2 separate regions of the Homo sapiens genome follow, and region 2 is linked to region 1. Evidence: promoter capture Hi-C in 16 types of primary human blood cells and fetal thymus (Javierre and others, 2016). All regions are on one chromosome and are shown on one strand. The core of a region is centred on a gene start or on the middle of the fragment in contact, and the rest is flanking DNA. Distances in the headings are between cores, read along the strand shown.

The links. The method cuts DNA at HindIII sites, captures the fragments that hold promoters and counts their contacts. A CHiCAGO score of 5 or more calls a contact.
Region 2: a contact is called between a fragment that was not itself captured here and the fragment with the promoter of ZSCAN21 in region 1, in 5 of 17 cell types (M2 macrophages, erythroblasts, endothelial precursors and 2 more). The highest score is 6.9, in M2 macrophages.

What each region holds. Positions count from the first base shown.
Region 1 is chr7:100,045,520-100,053,287 of GRCh38, reverse strand. It overlaps ZSCAN21 (zinc finger and SCAN domain containing 21), which reads right to left and starts at 3,514. Exons shown (of 4, transcript NM_145914.3): 1 at 3,447-3,514. RefSeq lists an enhancer at 2,993-3,612. The HindIII fragment of the contact is 10,625 bases long and covers 1-4,377 here.
Region 2 is chr7:99,528,281-99,536,048 of GRCh38, reverse strand. It overlaps ZKSCAN5 (zinc finger with KRAB and SCAN domains 5), which reads right to left. Exons shown (of 7, transcript NM_145102.4): 7 at 1,349-4,941. The coding sequence ends at 3,800. Among named protein-coding and RNA genes, the nearest start is that of FAM200A, 20 kb to the left of the region's middle. The HindIII fragment of the contact is 1,206 bases long and covers 3,446-4,651 here.

The DNA of each region.
Region 1 (7,768 bases), core at 2,265-4,764:
TTGGTGAATCCAAATTCACAGATGCCACTGGATCACATGATTGCCTCTGCAAATTACAGAAAAAAAAGTTTCCTTGGATGTTGCTGCTGGGCAGTTGGCTGGGTAAGCTCATTAGCTAAGTGATTTATTCTAGGCACATCAGTTCTTTTTTTTTTTTTTTTTGAGATGGAGTCTCACTCCGTTGCCCAGGCTGGAGTGCAGTGCCATGATCTTGGCTCACTGCAACCTTCGCCTCCCGAGTTCAAGTTATTCTCATGCCTCAGCCTCCTGAGTAGGTGGGATTACAGGTGCGTGCCATGCCCGGCTAATTTTTATATTTTTAGTAGAGATGGGGTTTCACCATGTTGGCCAGGCTGGTCTTGAACTCCTGACCTCAAGTGATCTGCCCACCTCGGCCTCGCAGAGTGCTGGGATTACAGGCGTGAGCCACCACGCCCGGTGGTACATCAGTTTTGCGGTGCACACAACTCAAATGTACAATGCATAAAGACTACAAACGAGTAGAGGGCCGGGTGCCCTTCCTCCTTCCTGCACTCACTCTCCTTGGTGATTTCACAAGTTGCATGGTTTTAATTACCATCTATATACTCACAACTGCCCAAACTGTATCTCCAACTTAGACCTCCCTGCTGACCTCCAGACTCATACGACCAACTACCCACTTGCCATTACCACCTGGATGTCCAGTAAGACATCTCAACCTTAACATGTCCAAAATGGAATTCCCATCTCTCCCTCAAAAGCTGCTCATCTCAGCTAATGGCAACTCTCATTGTTCTTTTTACTTGGACCGAAAAACCTGGGGTCATCCCGAATCCTCTTTCACTTTTTTTTTTTAATTTAATTTTTTTATTTTTTAGAGACAGTGTCTTAGCCTGTTGCCTAGACTGGAGTGCAGTGGCACAATCACAGCTCACGGAAGTCTTGAACTCCTAGTCTCAAGCCATCTTCTTGCCTTGGTCTCTCAAAGTTCTGGGGTTACAGGCGTGAACCACTTCACTGGGTCTTTATTTTATTGTTTTTCAATTACAGAGGCAGGGTCTCGCTTTGTTGCCCAGGCTGGCGTGTAGTGGTGCCATGACAGCTCACTGCAGCGTTGAACTCCTGGCCTCAAGCGATCCTCTCACCTCAGCCTCCAAAGTAGCCAGGACTACAGGTGTGCATCACCACATCTAGCTAATTAAAAAAAATTTATTTATTGATTTACTTATTTTTGTAGAAACGAAGTCTTGCTTTGTTGCCCAGGCTGAGGCATAACTTGAGCTCAGGAGTTCCGGGCTGCAGAGTTGTGGCTGTACCACTGTGCTCCAGCCTGGGTGACAAAGGAAAACCCTGTCTCTTAAAAAAATAAAGAAGCATGCGGCTAGAAATCAAATGCTTCATTACTAACTCACATTGTCTACAATCACAGTGACTTTTTAAAAGCTATCTAGACTGTTTATCTCAAGAAGTCCATCAAGCAAAAGTTCATGGTCTATCATAAACAGAAGGCCCTTGTTCTGTGTCCATTTTCCCTCCTCCTTTATGCCAATCTCCCACAGCTTATATGCCCTTATGAAAGCGCCCCAAGTCCATTCTGTAACAAGATGAGGCATAAAAAAATCAAATTACCATAGATTCTAAAAGTAGAACAGCACTTACCCACTTGTGCTAAAATGCTTCACACTCAGTCCGTACCTGAAAATCCCTAGGGGGCCCGGCGCCGTGGCTCACACCTGTAATTCCAGCACTTTGGGAGGCCCGAGGCGGGCAGATCACGAGGTCAGGAGATCGAGACCATTCTGGCTAACACGGTGAAACCCCGTCTCTACTAAAAAATACAAAAAATTAGCCAGGCGTTGTGGCGGGCGCCTGTAGTCCCAGCTACTTGGGAGGCTGAGGCAGGAGAATGGCTAGAACCCGGGAGGCGGAGCTTGCAGTGAGCCGAGATCGCGCCACTGCATTCCAACCTAGGCGACAGAGCGAGACTCCATCTCAAAAAAAAAAAAAAAAAAAAAAAAAAAAAGAAAATCCCTAGATCCCTAGGCAGCCAAATTAGATAATTCTTGAGCCACAGAATTCCACTAATTGTTACAAGTTCTTCCTTTTTTTTTTTTTTTTTTTTTTTTTGAGACGTAGTTTCACTCTTGTTTCCCAGGCTGGAGTGCAATGGCGCGATCTCGGCTCACCGCAACCTCTGCCTCCCAGGTTCAAGCGATTCTCCTGCCTCAGCCTCCTTACAGGCATGTGCCACCACGCCCGCCTAATTTTGTATTTGTAGTAGAGACGGGGTTTCTCCATGTTGGTCAGGCTGGTCTCGAACTCCCGACCTCAGGTGATGCACTCGCCTCGGCCTCCCAAAGTGCTGGATTACAGGCATGAGCCACCGCGCCCGGCCACACAAATTCTTTAACCTGAATCAAATTCCGCATCATTTCAAAAATCCTAGGTTAGTCCAAGACCAATACTCACTTTCTCCATAGCAGCCTTCCAACACTTGAAAACAATTATCTTGCCTCTTAATTCTTTTCCTCTCCACAGCTCAACTGTTCCTTAGATTTCGTGGGTTTCCAAGTACCTCACCCATCAAATCAACGTTCTTTTTTTTTGTGAGACCAAGTGTTGCTCTGTCGCCCAGGCTGGAGTGCAGTGGCGTGATCTCGGTTCAGTGCAACCTCCACCTGGTGGGTTCAAGCGATTCTCCTGCCTCAGCCTCCTGAGTAGCTGGGATTACAGGCGCGCTCCACCACACCCAGCTAATTTTTGTATTTTTCGTGGGGACAGGGTTTGGCCAGGCTGGTCTCGAACTCCTGACCTCAAGTGATCCGCCGGCCTCGGCCTCCCGAACTGCTGGGATTACAGGCGTGAGCCACCGCGCCTGGCCCAAATCAACTTTGTCCTGACACTCTTTTATTTATACATGGTTCTTTAAGACTGTTTTTCTAAACCATGAGCAGATCCCTATTCTGTGTGTGTGTTCTAGCCCGAACAAAGCCCGAGGGGACTATTTCTTCCCTTGGATTTGATTCTACCCAACACTTCTAATGAGGTTCGGCTTCCCACAGGTTTCCAACACCTTGGGCGTATTGCCATCAATGAGCCTTGCGTTCGGACCTCCAGTTCAGAGAAAGGGAAAAAAGGCGGCCACGGTCAGACTGATAGACGGCTTGGCTTGGGGAACGCACAAAAAAAACTATTCTGGAACGCGAAAGAACTTCCAAAACATCTGTTCTTCCAGCTTTCATTTGTTAAAGCCCCAAGTGGAAGAAAAGGCTTTCCAGGCAGCCAGCGCCCCCACCAGCTGGTCCTGGGCGGGGACGAGGAGCTCCTCCCCACAGCCCTGCTAGGACCGGTCTAGGTGGGGTCCTCGGAAGCCACAGCTGCTAAACCCACTCCTCCCTCCCCAGACCATTCAGCCACGGCTCCCTCTCCTGTCCGCCTCGCTAACCCGCGACCAGCAGGCTCACCATGAATCAGAGCCGCTCCGGGTACCGGGAGACCGCACCGCGTACCTCGGGACCGCGCACCCGGAAGTGCGTCATAGCCCCGCCCCCGCGGAAAAGTAGTGCGGGGCCGTAGCGGCCCCTCTAGAAATTCGGGAGGTCCTCTCTGTGTCTCTGGCCCTTGGGACATCAGGGAGGAGTTGAGTCCACCCCGAAAATGAAAAGCCAGGGACTCTTTCTGTTTTTACCGAAGACGGTCAGACCAGATGAAGGCTGCGGCGGTTCTCTCACCCAACCCCGACGCCCTGGGGCAGGGAGGGCATGGGCTGAGGCAGCCACCTCGGTCACCCTCGTGGACTTCAGAGCCCAAGGTCCCTGAGTACCCTTGGGATAAGCACAGGGTTCCTTGTCCATAAACCTGGATCGAGGTCACTGGATACCCTTGGGCCCAGCTCCTCGGTCCAGGTTTATGGACATGGAACGCTGTGCTTGGCCCGTGAAGCCAGAGATTGAGTTAATACTTCGTTGATGAAAACAATCAAACTGTAAAATATTTGAAGACATTTATTTTGAGACAAATATGAGTGACCAATGGCCCAAGGTACAGTCTCAAGAGGTCCTAAGAACATGTACCTATGATGGTCGGGCTACAGCTTGGGTTTATACAATTTAGGGAGACATAAGACACCAATCAAGACATGTAAGATGAACATTGGTTCTGTGGGAAAGGCAGGACAATTCCAAGCGGGGATGTTCCAAGTCATAGGTGAACTCAAGGATCTTCTAATGGGCAACTGGCTGAAAGTTATTGTCTAAAGACCTATAATCAATAGAAAGGAATGTCTGGGATGACTAAGGCAGGGGTCCCCAACCCTTGGGGCACAGACAGATACCAGTCCATGGCCTGTTAGGAACTGGGCCGTTACTGCAGGAGGTGAGCTGCAGGAGCAAAGCTTCACCTGTATCTACAGCCACTCCCCATTGCTCTAATTACTGCCTGAGCTCCGCCTCCTGTCAGATCAGCCATAGCATTAGATTCTTACAGGAGCACAAACCCTATTGTGGACAGTGCATGCGAGGGATCTAGGTTGTGCACTCTTTATGAGAATCTAATACCTGATGATCTGTCGCTGTCTCCCATAATTCCCCAATGGAACCCTCTAATTACAGGAAAACAAACTCAGGGCTCCCACTAATTCTATGTTATGATGAGTTGTACAATTATTTCATGATATATTACAATGTAATAATAATAGAAATAAAGTACACAATAAATGTAATGTGCTTGAATCATCCTGAAACCACGAAACCATCCATCCCCCTCCTGCCATCCATGGAAAAAACTGTCTTCCACAAAACTGGTTCCTGGTGCCAAAAAAGGTTGGGGACCGCTGAACTAAGGGGTTGTGGAGACCAGGGTTCCCATTATGCAGATGGAGCCTCCAGGCAGCCGGCTTCAGAAAGAACAGACTGCAAATATTTCTTATCAGACTTTAAAAAGTGCCAGACGCCCAGTTGATTCTCTCCTGGATCAGGAAAAAGGCCTGGAAAGGGAAGGGGATTCTCTACCAAGTGTAGATTTTCCCCACGAGAAGACAGCTTGGTAGGGTTATTTCAAGATATGGCAAAAAAACATATTTGGGGTGGAAATATTTTCGTTTCCTTCTTTATCTGCCATGTGATGTTATGCCAGAGCCTGGTTGAAAAGTCAGCCAGGTTATATAAAGTTAAATAAAACCTGTCTGATGAGGCTTTATGGTTTGAAGGGGGTGACTCTCCAGGCCCCTTAGATAGTAATTTGGGCAAAAGAAGAAAACAGTCAGAGTTTAGTCCTCAACTTTGCAGACCAGGGTCATGGTGACATCAATCAGAAGTAGCCTTGCCCTTCTGTGGGTCCTAAACTTCCTGAGCAGAAGACCTAGGGGCTGAACTCCTTCCAATGCTGCAGGACTCGATGAAGATGTCTTTGCCTGCCTTTTCCTCCTGCTGCTCTGGCTCAGCTGCAGGTTTCCAGACTGAAGAGTCTGTATTTTCCACCTCAGCACTACTCCATCGGGCCCCCTGTGAGTTTGCTTTTGTCTGGTCCTGCAAAACTCACATGTGTTGAGGAACACCAATATGGCTGCCTGCACGTGGAATTCCCTGTCCATACGCGTCATGAATTCATAGATACTCAATATCATTTTTCCCTGACATTTTCCAGGATAATTTAAAAATTTTTTATGTTTAAAGACATGCAAAATTAGAGAAAATGAGCCTCCATGTGCATTCTTTTGTTTCTTTCTTTTTTTTTTTTGAGATGGAGTCTTACTCTGTCGCCAGGCTGGAGTGCAGTGGTGCAATCTAGGCTCACTGCAACCTCCGCCTCCTAGGTTCAAGCGATTCCTCTGCCTCAGCCTCCCGAGTAGCTGGGACTACAGGCGCGCACCACCACGCTCGGGTAATTTTTTATTTTTTTTTGTATTTTAGTAGAGACAGGGTTTCACCATGTTGGCCAGGATGGTCTTGATCTCCTGACCTCATGATCTGCCCGCCTCGCCCTCCCAAAGTGCTGGGATTACAGGTGTGAGCCACCGTGCCCGGCTGTTTCTTTACTTCTCTAATAAACTTGCTTTCTCTTAAAAAAAAAAAAAAATGAGCCTTGGCAGGGCACGGTGGCTCACGCCTGTAATCCCAGCACTTTAGGAGGCTGAGGCAGGCGGATCACAAGGTCAAGAGATCGAGACCATCCTGGCCAACATGGTGAAACTCTGTCTCTATTAAAAATACAAAAATTAGCTGGGTGTGGTGGCACATGCCTGTAATCCCAGCTACTCGGGTGGCTGAGGAAGGACAATTGCTTGAACCCAGGAGGCAGACATTGCAGTGAGCTGAGATTGCACCCCTGCACTACAGCCTGGTGACAGAGTGAGACTCTGTCTCACCAAAAAAAAAAAAAAAGCCTCCATATACATTGGCCAGCTTTAACAATTGTTACATGGTTAGTCCTTTTAATTCATTCCCCCATGGTCTTGAACTCGTGACCTCAAGTGATCCACCTGCCTCAGCCTCCCAAAGTGCTGGGAGCCACCGTGAGCCACTGTGCCTGGCCCCAAAATCTCCATTTTATAGACCAGGAAACAGGCTCCAAAAAGTCACTTTTCCAATATCACACAACTGATACGTGGGAGCATCAGGAGTGAAACTTGGCCCCCTTTCTCCAAAGCCTGTGCTCTACTGCCTCTCAGTTAGACGGGGAAGAAAGAGATGGGAAATGGAAACAGGATCACCAGGACAGAGGGAAGAACCGGGAAACCTACACACATTTCAAGAGCCACACCTGTGTCGATGCTTTGGTGGGGCTCCATTCAGCCTCTTGGTCAACGGGTCTTTGTCTAGTTATGAAACCATTAAGTGGTTATGCTGGGGCTTGAAGAAAATCCATCTATTTCCAAACCCATTGTCCTTTCCAGGGCTGAGATGCTCCTCAAGCAAAGGGGCTTAGAGCTGCTGTAAAATATTAACGTCAAAAGAGACCTTAAGGACAATCTGGTTAAACTCTTGTTTCTTGTTTTCAGTTGAAGAAACCAGTGCCTGAAGAAGTCGGATCCAAGGTACACTAGTTAGCTAATTAGTATCAAAGCTGAGAGCACAAGCCAGATTCTCCAATCCTGTGTGCTTGCTGTGTCTCAAGAGATTTTTTATTTTTATTTATTTATTTGCGGTAGGGCCTCACTCTGTTGCCCAGGCTGGAGTGCAGTGGTGTGATCATAGCTCACTGCAGCCTCCAACTCCTGGACTCAAGTGATCCTCCCACCTCAGCCTCCCGAGTAGGCACATGCTACCATGCCTGGCTATTTTTCTAAAAAATTATTTCTTTTTTTTTTTTTTTTGAGACGGAGTCTCGCTCTGTCGCCCAGGCTGGAGTGCAGTGGCGTGATCTCGGCTCACTGCAAGCTCCGCCTCCCAGGTTCACACCATTCTCCTGCCTCAGCCTCCCGGGTAGCTGGGACTACAGGCACCCGCCACCATGCCCGGCTAATTTTTTGTATTTTTAGTAGAGACGGGGTTTCACCGTGTTAGCCAGGATGATCTCGATCTCCTGACCTCGTGATCCACCCGCCTCGGCCTCCCAAAGTGCTGGGATTACAGGCGTGAGCCACTGCGCCCAGCCCCTAAAAAATTATTTCTAGGGGTTTTACCATGTTGCCCAGGCTGGTAGAGAACTCCTGGGCTCAAGCAATCCTGCTGCCTCAGCCTCCCGAGTAGCTGGGACCACAAAAGAAAAATAATTCCCATGCACGCCACCATGCTGGACAATTTTTTTTTTTTTTTTTTTTTTGGTGAGACTGAGTCTTGCTCTGTCG
Region 2 (7,768 bases), core at 2,799-5,298, 520 kb after region 1:
CAATGCTGCAGAAGAATTCTGAAACACTATTCCATTATTTCATTTATTTATTTATTTATTTGCAATAGGGTCTTGCTCTGTTGCCCAGGCTAGCGTGCAGTGGTGTGATCATAGCTCACTGCAGCCTTTAATTCCTGGGCTCAAGTGATCCTCCCACCTCAGCTTCCCAAGTAACTAGGTCCAGATGCATGCAGCATCACACCCAACTAATCTATTTTATTTTTTGTAGACGGTGGGGCACTGGCAGAGTAGGGAGGATCTCACTATGTTGCCCAGGCTGATCTTGAATTCCTGGGCTCAAGCAATCCTCCTGCCTTGGCCTCTCAAGATGCTGGGATTACAGGCATGAGCCACAGTGCCTGGCCTTATTCTGCCTATTAAAGACAGCACCTTTTAATGGCTGTTGGTTTAAAGAGTGTATGAACCAAGCATGATGGCTCATGCCTATAATCCCAACATTTTTAGGAGGCAGAGACAGGAGTATTCCTTGATCCCAGGAGTTCAAGACCAGCCTGGGCAACATAGTGAGACCCCATCTCTACCAAAAATAGAAAATAAATAGCCTGGTGCTGTGGCCCATGTCTGTAATGCCAGCACTTTGGGAGGCTGAGACGGGTGGACTGCTTGAGCTCAGGAGTTTGAGACCAGTCCAGGCAACATGGCAAAACCCTGTCTCTACCAAAAATACAAAAATGAACCACGTATGGTGGCACATGCCTCTGGTCCCAGCTACTTGGGAGGCTGAGGTGGGAGGATCGCTGGCACCCGGGAAGTTGAGGCTGCAGTGAGCTGTAATCATGCCACTCCACTCCAGCCTGGGTGACAAAGCGAGACCCTGTCTCAAAAAACAAAAAACAAACAAACAATGGTCCCCATGGCCACATGCCCACTGCTGCACCTCTGGCTGTAATGTGAATGGTCTGGGGTGATGTTATATAATAACCAGCCCCTGCAAACCAGGATAGCCACTACCAAGCTTCTCAGTGATGCTGATGGCCCCCCAACCAGGGCATTCCTTGGAACCTTGGTAAACAGAATGCTCTCCAGACCCTCCTAAGGAACATAACTGAAGGTGGGTTGCTTGGTCTTATCTTCTAGTTCCATCCTAGTTTGTGTATGTATGAATCTTTGGATCCCTTTGTTAAGTCTGCCATGGTTTTGTCATCTCTACGTCATTTAATGTGGGCCACTGACTTTTCTAAGCTTTCAAGAATCACTCCAAGGCCAGGTGCAGTAGCTCATGCCTGTAATCCCAACATTTGGGAGGCCAAGGCTGGAGGATCACTTGAGCCCAGGAGTTCGAGACCACTCTGGGCAGCATAGGGAGATACCATCTCTCCAAAAAATGTTTTTTTTTTTTTTTTTTTTTTTTTTAGACACTGTCGCTCTGTCAACTGGGCTAGAGTGCAGTGGCGTGATCTCAGCTCACTGCAACCTCTGCCTCCCGGGTTCAAGCGATTCTCCTGCCTCAGCCTCTGGAGTAGCTGGGACTATAGGCATGCGCCACTATGCCCAGCTAATTTTTGTATTTTAAGTAGAGACCGGGTTTCACCATGTTGGTTGGCCAGGATGGTTTCGATCTCTTGACCTCGTGATCTGCCCGCCTCAGCCTCCCAAAGTGCTGGGTTTATAGGCATGAGCCACCGCGCCCAGCTAAAGTATGTTTTTTAAAAATTAGCCACTCATGGTGGCATGTGCCTGTAGTCCCAGCTATTCAGGAGGCTGAGGTGGCTAGACCACTTGAGCCCGGGAGGTCAAGGCTGCAGTGAGCTGTGATTGCACCACTGCACTCTAGCCTGGGCAGCAGAGCAAGACCCTGTCTATAAAAAAATTAAAAAGCTACCAAGAAGGTCCTCTGACACACACTTGGCATTAAATTGGTGGTTATTTGCCCTGTCATTTTCTTCTCTTCAAGGATTCAGTGACTTTCAGCAAGAGCCACCCAATTCCATAATCTTTATTTTCCTGTTTGTCCCAAACCTCTACAAGTCAATAGATCGCTTTCCACCTGTATCTCATCCCAGTTCCCCACAAGTGAATGACTTAGTGACTGGACAGGTACCACATGCCAGGACTATTAACAGTGATGCGGGTCTTCACTCCCTCCTGGCGAGTGACCAACTCCACAATCCACTCTCACAGCAGCTTCCTATGACCACTTGTGGCACCAAATGTCTTAGATCAGGTTCTCTAAAGCAGAGCCTGAGACAGGGATTCAGAACCATGTGATTGACAGTGTGATTTATTTGGGAAACGCCTTTGAGGGAGGGAATGAAACAGGATAGAGAAGGGAGAGAGCTTAGCACGGATGAAGGCTCAGAAAAAGTCTAGCTTGGCCTGATCCAAGGGTGCCAGAGCAGTCATAGCACCCTGGAGTTTTCTCCGCTTTAATCAAATGAACCAGGTGTTGGGGTGTAGAGAGGAAGTGACTCCTGGGTGAGGTGAGATGGCTCTCATCTCCTGAGGGCAATTCTCCAGTTTCTGGAGAACAAGAGCTGTGAGCACTTGCAGCCCAAACTCAGAGCAGCTGGGGATGGGGGTCTCAGCTTGGTAGAGGGGACTGGACAGGGCACCACAGTGTACAACACATATGGTCAACAAATATTTATTGGGCATTTATTGTAAGCCAGGCAAGTCAGCAGAAACGGCCTGAGCAGTGCCCAAGAGCACTCACTCACTCTCCCTAGCAAACAGGCTCAGAACTCTCTCACACATGTCATCCTCTTTCCCACTCAAAACTCCCACCCCAACCTTCCTGGAAGGCAGGGCTAACAGGACCTCCTGCCTGCCTGCTCACGACTGATTACTTTCAATCCCAGCTGCAATGCAAACTGAAACTCATTCTGTATATCACCACTCTACAGGAGAGGTCTATTTCTGGGGCACCCAGAAGTCAGCACACATACTGCTGGGACCAGGACTCGTAATTCGCCTTGGTCCAACTCCTTCTATGGGTTTAGCTGCCCTCATTCCTGTGGGTAATACAAGATCAAACAGTCCACAACTTTGCCTGTCTTCTCTGCTCCCCTAAGGTCCCTCTCCCTTCGCCGTAAGATGTGACTGACCAGTACAGTTTCTCCTGAATTGACAAACTGAACTACTCCTTCTACCGGCTAAACCCTGACATCAGTAGAATCAAACCAAAAACAAGGTAGAGTGTTTCACAGAGAAGTGGTGGATTGAATAAGGCAGCAGAAACACATACCATCCAGCCCCTGAACCTGAATTTTGCCAAAACAGAGATACTTTAAGTCCATTTCTTTTCAAAGGGGTTAATGCTCAAAGTGGGAATAGTGACTAGGGTATTCTAGTGGTTGGAATAATAATTTCTAGAAAAGGTTCATTGCTGAGGTACCAAAACAGACATCATGCTAAGGAATTCTTTTACTGTGCGCTTCCCTGAATAGATACGCCGTCAAACAAGGCAGAAGCTACAAATAAAGCTTACTTCTACTGAACTCATGAAGCTGTTCCTAGTGTCAGTTTTGAGTTTCAAGTGAAGACTGAATGTCAACTGCAGGCTTTCCGAATTCCTCGACCATGTCCATCCATGGATTCTCTTCTTGTCTAGATTTCCAAGCATGAAGATGCTAACTAAAGCATTTCTCAATGGGGAACACGAAAAGATTTCTATTATTGTGGGTTCTCCGGTGTTCCTAAAGGCTGAGTTATAACTAAAGGATTTCAACCTATTTGTGAGTTTGATGGTAACGCTGGAAAAATGCTTGAAGTTGTTACTTTGCTCATTATAGGAGTATGGTTTCCCTCCAGGAAGGTTTCTCTAAAATTAAGAGCTATTCTACAACAGAGACCCCTCTACACTTAAGGTATTTATGGGATCTGTCCTCTCATGGCTTCTCAGGTGTTTAAAGAGGCTACAACTCCAGCTGAAATTCATTCCACATTCTTTACATTGAAAAGGTTTCTCACCAGTATGGATTCTCTGATGTTGATTAAGATGTGACTTCAGAGTGAAGCCTCTGCCACATTCATGACATTGATGGGATTTTGTGCTGGAGTAGATTTTTTGATGTTGTTTGGTGTGGGAACACTGGCCAACATTTTCTCTACATATATCACATTGATAGGGCTTCTCTGCTGTATGAGTTCTGTAATGCTGAATGAGGTCTGAGCTATAACCAAAGGCTTTTCCACAGATATCACACTGATAAGGCTGCTCTTGTAACTCAATCTTCTTGTCTTCAATCACTGTCAAGTTCCAACTATATGCTTCCTCACAGATGCCATTTTTTTCATTTTTCTGACCCATGTGGAGCACCTGATGTTCAATTAGGCTAACGTACTGAAAAAAGATTTCCCCACATTCACGACACTGATGGGATTTCTCTCGGGAGTGGAGTCGAAGATGTCCAGCCAGGTGGGAACGCCTCCCAAAGCCTTTCCCACATTCGTTACACTTGAAGGGTCTCTCCCCACTGTGCACGCTCTGATGCTGAACAAGGTGGGACCTCACTCTGAAGGCTTTCCCACATAAGGGACAGGTGTAGGGCTTCTCACCTGTGTGGACGCGCTGATGCTGAGTTAGGTGCACGCGTTGGTTGTAGCTTTTCCCACATTCCTCACACCTGAATGGTTTCTCCCCAGTGTGTATTCTTTGATGTTGAATAAGATGTGCACTCTGAATGAAGCTTTTCCCACACTCGTTACATTTATGTGGTCTCTCTCCAGTGGAGGATTTTTTGTGGACATATGGGACTTCACTGTAGTTCATCCTCTTTGAAGATGGTTGTCCTAGTATCTCTTTCATGGGAATTCCCTGCTTTCTATCCAGCTTGCCTTGAAACTCACAGCCTTCTCCAAAATCTTGAACTTGAGAAACATTTCTTTGGGTTTTTCCAGATAGTTCCATGTCTGCTTCTGAATATTCTGAAATTTTCTTCTTAACACTTAATTTTGTGTTCTTACTTCTTTTGTCACTGCCTAAAAAAAATAAAGAGCAAGTGAAAATGTCATCAGTTCTTTTTTTTTTTTGAGATGGGGTCTTGCTCTGTCGCCCAGGCTAGAGTGCAATGATGCGATCTCGGCTCACTGCAACCTCTGCCTCCTGGGTTCAAGTGATTCTCCTGCCTCAGCCTCTCAAGTAGCTGAGACTACAGGCGTGCATGACCACACCCAGCTAATTTTTGTATGTTTAGTAGAGATGGGGTTTTGCCATGTTGGCCAGGCTGGTCTCAAACTCCTGACTTTGGGTGATCCACCCGCCTCAGCCTCCCAAAGTGCTGGGATTACAGGTTTAAGCCACCGTGCCTGGCCCATCAGTTCTTTTATAAAGGAAAAATAAACTGTCATAAAAAATGTTCATCAGATGAAACTATGATGTAACGGGAGTAACAGAGGTGGATGTGTGTGTGTACTTGATGCCAACAGGAATGTAAACAACAAACTTTTGGAATTTTCTGACGAAAAGAGCAAGACTCATCCACAGGATGGCAGAAAATATTTGCAAACTATGCATCAGACAAAGGACTAATATCCAGAATCTACAAGTAACTCTAACAAGTCAACAAGAAAAAAAAAATCCCATCAAAAAGTAGGCAAATGACATGGAGACAGTTCTCAAAATAATATATACAAATGACCAACAAACATGAAAAAAATGCTGAACATCACTAATCATCAGGAAGGTGCAAATTAAAGCCACAATAAGGTACTGCCTTACTCCTGCAAGAATGGCCATTATTAAGAAGTCAAAAGGCCGGGCGTGGTGGCTCACACCTGTAATCCCAGCACTATGGGAGGCCGAGGCGGGCAGATCACCTGAGGTCAGGAGTTCGAAACCAGCCTGGCCAACATGGTGAAACCCACATCTCTACTAAAAATACAAAAATTAGCTGGGCATGGTGGCGGGCGCCTGTAATCCCAGCTACTCAGGAGGCTGAGGCAGGAGAATCGCTTGAACCCAGGAGGCTGAGGTTGCAGTGAGCCGAGACTGCGCCATTGCACTCCAGCCTGGGCAACAGCAAGACTCCATCTCAAAAAAAAAAAAAAAAAAAGGCCGGGTGCAGGTGGCTCACGCCTGTAATCCCAGAACTTTGGGAAGCCGAGGTGGGTGGATCACGAGGTCAGGAATTCAAGACCAGCCTGACCAAGACAGTGAAACCCCATCTCTACTAAAAATACAAAAATTAGCTGGGCATGGTGGTGGGTGCCCTGTAATCACAGCTACTCCAGAGGCTGAGGCAGAGAATTGCTTGAACCCAAGAGGCAGAGGTTGCAGTGAGCCAAGATTGCGCCACTGCACTCCAGCCTGGGCAACACAGCGAGACTCCATCTCAAAAAAAACAAAGAAGTCAAAAAACAATAGATGTTGGCATGGATGTGGTGAAAAGGGAACGCTTATACATTGCTGGTGAGAGATAAATTAATACAACTTCTGTGGATAACAGTATGGAGACTTCTTCAAGAACCAGAAGTAGATCTGCCATTTGATCCAGCAATTCCACAACTGGGTATATCTACACAAAGGAAAAGACAATATACCAAAAAGACTGTAAGCGCCTGTCTTCTGCAGCACAATTCACAACTGCAAAGATATGGAGCCAATCTAAGTGCCCGTTGAGCAATGAGTTGATAAAGAAAATGTAGCAGGCTGGGTGTGGTGACTCGTGCCTATAATCCCAGCACTTTGGGAGGCTGAGGCAGGTGGATCACCTGAGGTCAGGAGTTCAAGACCAGCCTGACCAACATGGTAAAACCTCATCTCTACTAAACATACAAAAATTAGCAAGGGATCGTGGTAGGTGCCTGTAGTCCCAGCTACTCGGGAGGCTGAGGCAGAAGAATCGCCTGAACCCAGGAGGCAGAAGCTGCAGTGAGTTGAGATCACATCACTGCACTCCAGCCTGGGTGACAGAGTGAGACTCCATCTCAAAAAAGAAAAACAAAAAACAAATACATAACTGGGTGGTGAGAACTGACAAAAACTGGAAGAATGAGAGTGAAGGATGATGAAGAGGGTATGCAGTCAGGGAATATCTGACTAGGAGTCAGGAAATAAGGCAAAATGAGCCAACAAGAAGCATTGTCAGAGGGTGGGTGATACAGCAATCCCTGCCCCCTTCACCCTTAGCCAACATTCTAGCCTCAGTTTTCCTCCCCCGGCATGTCATCCTTCTCCTTTGGGAATGCTCATCACCTTTACTATCTGCTACCCCCACCAGACCATCGGCTGCATGAGAGCATGGACTGTATCTCTGTTCTGGTCACTGCAGATCCTGTGCAACTAGCAACACAGACTCTCAATAATATGGCTGGATGTGCAAAACATGTATTCCCCCTTTGATCCAGAAAAATGAGGGAGGACCGGGCATGGTGGCTCACACCTGTAACTCCTAGCACTTGTGGAGGCCAAGGCTGGAGGATCGCTTAAGCCTAGAAGTTCAAGACCAGCCTGGGCAACAGAGCCAGACCCCTTCTCTACAAAAAATACATAAATTAGCTGGGTGTGGTGGTGAACACTTGTAGTCCCAGCTATGCAGGAAGCTGAGGTGGGAGGATTAGTTCAGCCCAGGAAGTGGAGGCTGCAGTGAGCTGAGATCCCGCTACTTTACCCTAGCCTGTGTGACAGAGCAAGACCCTATCTCAAAATACAAAAACGCCCCCGCCCCACAAAAAAAATGTGGAAGGCAAGTGAGTATTCACTGGGAAACTAGCCATAGAAACAATTGCAGGGAAGGTAGAAAACAAAAGATAACTATTTTAAAGCGATTGCTTTTTCAAGTCCAAAGCGCTATTGGTGGATTTTCCA